Regions from separate parts of the Homo sapiens genome. Here region 2 is linked to region 1. Evidence: promoter capture Hi-C in 16 types of primary human blood cells and fetal thymus (Javierre and others, 2016). All regions are on one chromosome and are shown on one strand. Each heading gives the region's core, a stretch centred on a gene start or on the middle of the fragment in contact. The rest is flanking DNA. Distances are from core to core; before and after follow the strand shown. Region 1 holds the start of KRABD3 (KRAB domain containing 3). Region 2 has its middle 23 kb from the start of ZNF467.

Region 1 (2,981 bases), core at 300-2,799:
CAAGTGTGAGTGTGCAAACACCTGGGCTACAAAACTCATCTTCGGGAGGAGGAAGGCCACCACTGGCTGGCTCTGCCCACACACCACCGGCCTTCCTCCTCGGGCCCCACTTCACCTCCTTCCCCCAACCAATGGAGAAAAGCTTTCTGGGCTGACCCAGGACTCTTGTAACTGGGCAGCCTCCTAGCTCATAGCTGCACACTGGTCCTCCTAACATCACCCTTCCACCGTGTCACTAGCCCAGCACAAAAACTGCAGCTTCAGTGCCTGCTGGACCTGCCCCTCTCTCACAGTCCTTCCCAACCTAGACCTGCTCTCCCAGTGGGCCTCAGGCTCGGGCTCCCTGATCAGACCCTGCCACAGGACCTCTCAACCTGGAGGCTGTGCTCACATTGCCCTGGGCTTCTGGGAACCCTCCCTGCTCCTCTCCACCTTACAGTGACCTACCACTCCCCAAGGTCACTCCTGGCCACCTTCTCCATGAAGCTACGTAGTGTGAGGATATTCCCCTCATCAGATCTGAAAGGTCAATGGCCCAAACTCCTCACTTTACAGAACAGGAAACTGTGGTATGAGGAGGCCTTAGGATGGGGCCATGGGCATGTCTGAACCAGGGTGTCCCTAGGCTACTTAACTGTGCAGCCAGACCTGAAAAGGACACTTGACTGTCCCTGCCCAACAACATCCAATTTGCCTAGCCTCTCCCTTCTCCCCAAATGCTTGGGGGCACTAATGACGCCAAGGGCCTGGCACAGTGTTTGCTCTGCCTAGTCACACGCTGCCCCCCATCCATGGCTGCCTCGGACTGGCCAAAGCTCAGGAGCCACCACGGTTGCAGAACTGGCTCCAGGTGCCCATCCAGAAGAACGTGGAGCAGTTGCTGGTATCAGCACCAGATACCTGATACCTCACTGATATCAGCACCAGAGTTTCCCAGCATCGTCACAGCCCACACACAACCTAGCCCAAACGGTGCCCAGGCTGTCACGGCCTGGGGCTCTCCCTCCAGTTCTCAGATCTAAACGCCTTACCTGCAGGCTTCCCAAGACAAAACTTGGGGTTTGTTCTATCTTTGTTTCTCCCCATTTCCACGTCCCCAGCCCCCGGGATCCAGGATTCCACCAAGAACAGAAGTATGAGATTTACTCACTGCCTCCGAGGCCTTCATGCCCACTCTACCAGGATAACTTGTAACGAAACAAGCCACGCCAAGGGGGTTTCCCCAGGTGGAGACTGGGCCGTGGGTACCGGCGGCGGAGAGCTGGAGAGAGGTTGTCCGAGGACCTGAACTTCCCGGCACGAACCCCTGAGCATCAGGCCTGCCCAGCCTCACCCAGCCGATCCCGAAGTTGCGGGGGGGTCCCAGCTCTTTCTCGCCCTACCGCCTTCGGGGCCGCACTGCGCCGAGGGGTCCGCGCGTCCGCCTGCCTTACCTGGCGCGCCATCCCCGGGCTCAGCCTCCCCGCCACTCCTCGGTTTCCGGCGCGGGCCCTGGCGCGGGCGCACGCGACCCTCGTCGGCGGCGGCCCAGGTCCGCGCAGGAGAAGGCGGGGCCGGGGGCCTGGGCCGAGGGGGAGGGGCGGGGGTGGGCGCGCCCGGGCCCGCCCCCGGCCTCGTTGAGCCCGCCCCGAGCGCCTCGCATCCCTTGGTGGGTGGTGCCGTTTCCGCCCGGAGCCCCCGGCTTCGGCGGCCCGGCCGGCCGGCGCAGACGCGGACTACACTTCCCAGAAGGCGCCGCGGCGCCGGCTCGGAAGCGGGGGGCGGAGACAGGGCGGGGCGGACCTGGCTCGGGCCTCGTCCCCGCCCCCTCCCCTCGTCCCCGCCCCCAGCTGCGGGTAGAGGTTGCGCGCCGAGACCAGCCGGGGCGGCTGTGGGCGTGCAAGCCCGCGGGTACGCGCCGCTTATCACTCATTCATTCCCGCAGCCACCACTCAGCGCGTCCCATGTGCCAGGGGCTGATGGTGGGGATGAAGAGGGACCCATCTTTCCCAGAGGCCGCGGTCGGGGAAACCCGACCTGGAGTGAAAGGGGTCGAGGGTCCGGCCGGGCGTGGGTGGGACAGAGCAGCTGCCAGGCCCCCGTACATCCTCACGTCTTTCGCCCGCGCCCCCGCTCGCCGCAGCCATGACCTACCTTCGTGTCACATTTTGCGTGCCTGTTTGCTGGGGTGGTAACCCCAGTTGTTCCTGGCACATAGTAGGCCTCAAATAAACGTGTGATGCGGGAAGGAAGCGCGGCCCACTCTCCTCTGCCTCCCCCTGCGCTTCACGAGTTCGAAGGCCTGGTCTGGGCGGGCGCTGCGAGAGCGCTCCGGGGGTGCGGGCGAGGCGCAGCGAGCCTGGTTTTCCTGTCTGGAGAAGGACCCCGTCATTTTTATAGAAGGCTGCTGGAAGGGGGCCTGCGGGGCTAAGCCTGCTGTGCCAGACAGAAGCTTGGAGGGGAAGGGGAGGCTGTGGTCCCACGCAGAGGAGACTCTGCTCTGAGTTTGGAAGCCCCGTCCAGACCTTGCGGCCCAGACAGCGCTCTGCCTGGGCAATATCGGAGGGAAGGAAAGGGAATTCCTCGCCCAGTCGCCCGGGGCTGGCCCTTGCAGCCGCGCCGGCCATGATCACGGACTCGGGTACGATGCCGACAACCCCTCGTCCCGGCCTCCGAGGAAAGGCGCACGCCCACTCGGGCAAAGCCCCCTCGGTCATACCCGAGACACCTTAGACACAGGACCGGCGTGTGCGCAGCCTGCTGAACAAGGATTTGAAGATATCACAAGGCCCCACCTCGCGGAAAGGGAAAACTTAAAAGTCCAACTTTTCAAGAGCCCTACAGGCCACAGCCCTCAGGGTAAGTCGCCTCCTGGGCTTTAGGCCGGGTCCCACCTCCGTGCCGAGGTGAGGCGGGCTCCTTACAGTAATGTGTTCCTGCTCCCAGCTCCTCTCCACCGCCCACCCTCCGGCCCGGGATCCCTAAACGTTAAAACCCCCTAA
Region 2 (2,981 bases), core at 134-2,633, 82 kb before region 1:
TGGCTCCATGGATGGTGAGCAGAGAGAGTGCAGGCTGGAGCCAAGTGGCCTCCCACCCCCATGGGGGAGACCTGTCCTGACCAGGCATCTGGAGAGGCAGCCACATTACAGGGCACAGGCTCAGTCCTGGGAGCTGGCCTGGAGCTACCTGCCCCGCCAACCTACAGCCACATACCTTGGAATCCCAGGGGGTGGGCAGGGGCAGGACCTGGCCATGTCCAAAGTGACCAGTGTCTCCTCCCTGAGCCAACCCCGTGACTCTCTTGGTTGTGGGGAAGTCAGGGGTCATGGGATTTGAACCCCTGAGATGTAACGGCCCCTGGCTCTGGAAGAACAGGTGGGACAAGAGTTTGGGGAGGAGGCCTGGAGTCTGTGCACACACCTGTCGGGGACGTGGGGGATTCCTGCCCAGGGGGCCAGTGCTCAGTCTCTGCCAGGCCCTGCAGAGGGAGAGGGCTCAGCACCCTGCACAGCCCCCGGCCCTGAGGGCAGCTCCCATCCCCTGAGGATACAGCCTGGGCGCTCACAGTCCCAGCACTGCTTCCTGTCCATCTTCCTCCCCCGCAGCCCAGGGCAGAGCTGAGCACGCAACTGCGCTTCCAGGCACCAGCCCACTGCCCTCAAGGAGCTCAGGGACCTTATTCTCAGCAGCCCACCAGGGTGATCCATTTCAGCTCTTGCCCCTCAAACTCCCCTTCCCCCACCCAATGCACATGTCCACCCCCTACCCCCTACCCCACCCACACACTCTGGGTTGCTGACCAGGCCATTCCAGGTGGGAAGGTGCTCCGCGCCTTCTCCACACTATAGACACCCCTCTCCAGCCCTCAAGTCTTGTCCGGGAAGCCCCTGGGGACCCGGGCACAGGGCTCTTTTCGGCTCTGAGCACCAGATGCCCTGGTGCCTGCCCCGTGGGCATAAGCTCCCTATCAGGGGTGCAGGCTTCTCTTGTCCCCAAACCCCTCTGGGCCCTCGCTCTGCCTGCACGTCTCTGCAGCCAGGCACCGGCAAGGCTCCTGAGAGCAGTACCAGGGAACACACAGGAGGAAATGCTGCGGAGAGGGGAGACGCCGCCAGCTGGTGCAGGAGCAGGGCTGGTGAGGCTGTGAGGCGAGGTCCCCGTCCCCCCACTCCACCCTCTGGGCCCAAGGCTCTACACTCACCTCCCTGGGCCAGTGCAGCAGCTGCCCCGGCTGGGCAGAGGAGAGGGCCAGGGTCTTGGCTGTGGAATGGAATCTGGGGAGAAAAATAGCCAAAAGGACTCCAGGGGCCCTCCCAGCACCAGTGCCCCCCTTCCAGGCAGGGGCGTCAGTGTGCTTTTGCTGGGCCTGGGGTCTTTGCGGGAGTGAGCATTCAGGAAGGACTCTGCCCACTGAGGCTGGACAAAGGCGATGTTCCCAACAGTAGCTCCCAACTTGACCATGGGTTAGAATCACCTGAGGGGCTTGTAAGACACACATTGCTGCACCCCACCCCTGCAGGTCTGGGCGGGCCCGAGAACCTGCCCTTCTAACAAGCTCCAGGTGCTGCCGATGCTGCTGGTCCAGGGCCCACACCTGGAGAACCCCTGACTCAACTATGAGAAAGGCAGGGAATCCTAGAATCCAGGTGGGAAAGGGCCTTGAAGGCACCCGGCTGCAGCTCCTCAGCATGCAGGGTCTGGGCACCTTGGGGGTGAAGGCAGTGCCGGGCCCCTCCCACATGGCTGTCCCCTCAAAGGCCAGGCCAAGGGCGTGAGCTGCACGGCCGGCCACAGTATACCTGCCAGTGCCCTCAGGCAGCAACACACAGCCCTCCTCATCCGAGCCATCCTCGCAGTCCAGAACACCGTCACAAGGGCCCCCTCTCAGGACACACTCACCACTGGCACAGCGGAGTCCAACCCCTGGGCACAGAGGTGCCGGTGGGGACCCTGTGTGGAGGACGTATGGCTGAGGGCTCCTCCCATGGCCCCTCTCTCTCCTGCCCTGCCCACCCCTGCGCAACCTGTACCTGGCTCGCAGCCCAGCAGCTCCACCTGCAGGGGGACATCGCTGTGGTGGACATCGTGGGGCCACACCCTGACAAACCTCGCCTGCACCATGCGGCCGAAAGTCCATACGGCAGGGTCCAGGTCATCCCAGTTTCTGGGGAAAAGCTGCCAGCAGAGGATGCGGATGACTGAGCTTCACCTCTTTTTCAGGCTGACCTCATGACTTTGAGTGACCCCACTTTTTCCCCAGTTTTCACGGCCCCTCCCAGAGCCATGCCCCCCACCCTGGCAGTAGGCATTTGGGCCTCTCAAGGCTGGAGGGGGCTGGTCCTGGACTGAGCTCCTCTCGCTAAGCTGGAGGTGCCCCTAGGGCAAAGGCCAGGTCCTGTTCACTGCTGTGTCCCCAGGGCCTGGCTCGGCACCTGGCACAGAGCAGGTGCTCCTGAAACAGTTAAGACTTAACACAGCACGGACTGATTCCTACCGCTTCGTGCGGTTTGTCTCCGGGAAGGATGCAAACCCCCTGAGGGCAGGGCTGTGCCCAGGCTGCTCTCCACGAAGACGTGCGTGGGTCTGGGCTCCCGGAGGCCCTCAGTGAACTTGGTGTCTCCCCATCCTCTCTCCCTTGCAGGCTTCACATACCTGCCCTGAGTCTGAGCCACTTGGATGGTTTCCAGCATCCATGTGACAGTGGCACCCAAGCCTCGGCTCCACAGAGCACAGTCCCTGCTACTCACCAGGTATTCAACAAGCATCGAATGCAGGCCATGCCCCTCGGGGACACTGGAAGGCCCTTGGGGACAAAGACTATGGAACCCACAAAAGGGCATGGTGGGCTGCTGGCCCCATCGGCCTTGGGCGGGTGATACCTTGGGCAGGGGCAAGATGCCAGGCAGGAGGTCACGATAGTCATGCCAGTGTAGACCATTGCTGCTGAACTGGAGTGAGAAGCTGCTGGCATATGCGTTGGAGGAGCCAGTCTCCGGCACTAGGATGCCTGGGGAGGGAG

Evidence for each region. The method cuts DNA at HindIII sites, captures the fragments that hold promoters and counts their contacts. A CHiCAGO score of 5 or more calls a contact.
Region 2: a fragment that was not itself captured here is called in contact with the fragment with the promoter of KRABD3 in region 1 in 1 of 17 cell types (neutrophils); the score reaches 5.0 in neutrophils.

Annotation. Positions count from the first base shown.
Region 1 is chr7:149,713,519-149,716,499 of GRCh38, reverse strand. It overlaps KRABD3 (KRAB domain containing 3), which reads right to left and starts at 1,549. Exons shown (of 17, transcript NM_001290187.2): 1 at 1,434-1,549. The coding sequence starts at 1,445. RefSeq lists enhancers at 627-1,259, 1,897-2,396 and silencers at 1,462-1,901, 2,728-2,981. The HindIII fragment of the contact is 2,289 bases long and covers 145-2,433 here.
Region 2 is chr7:149,795,527-149,798,507 of GRCh38, reverse strand. It overlaps the pseudogene SSPOP. Among named protein-coding and RNA genes, the nearest start is that of ZNF467, 23 kb to the right of the region's middle. The HindIII fragment of the contact is 8,655 bases long and covers 1-2,981 here.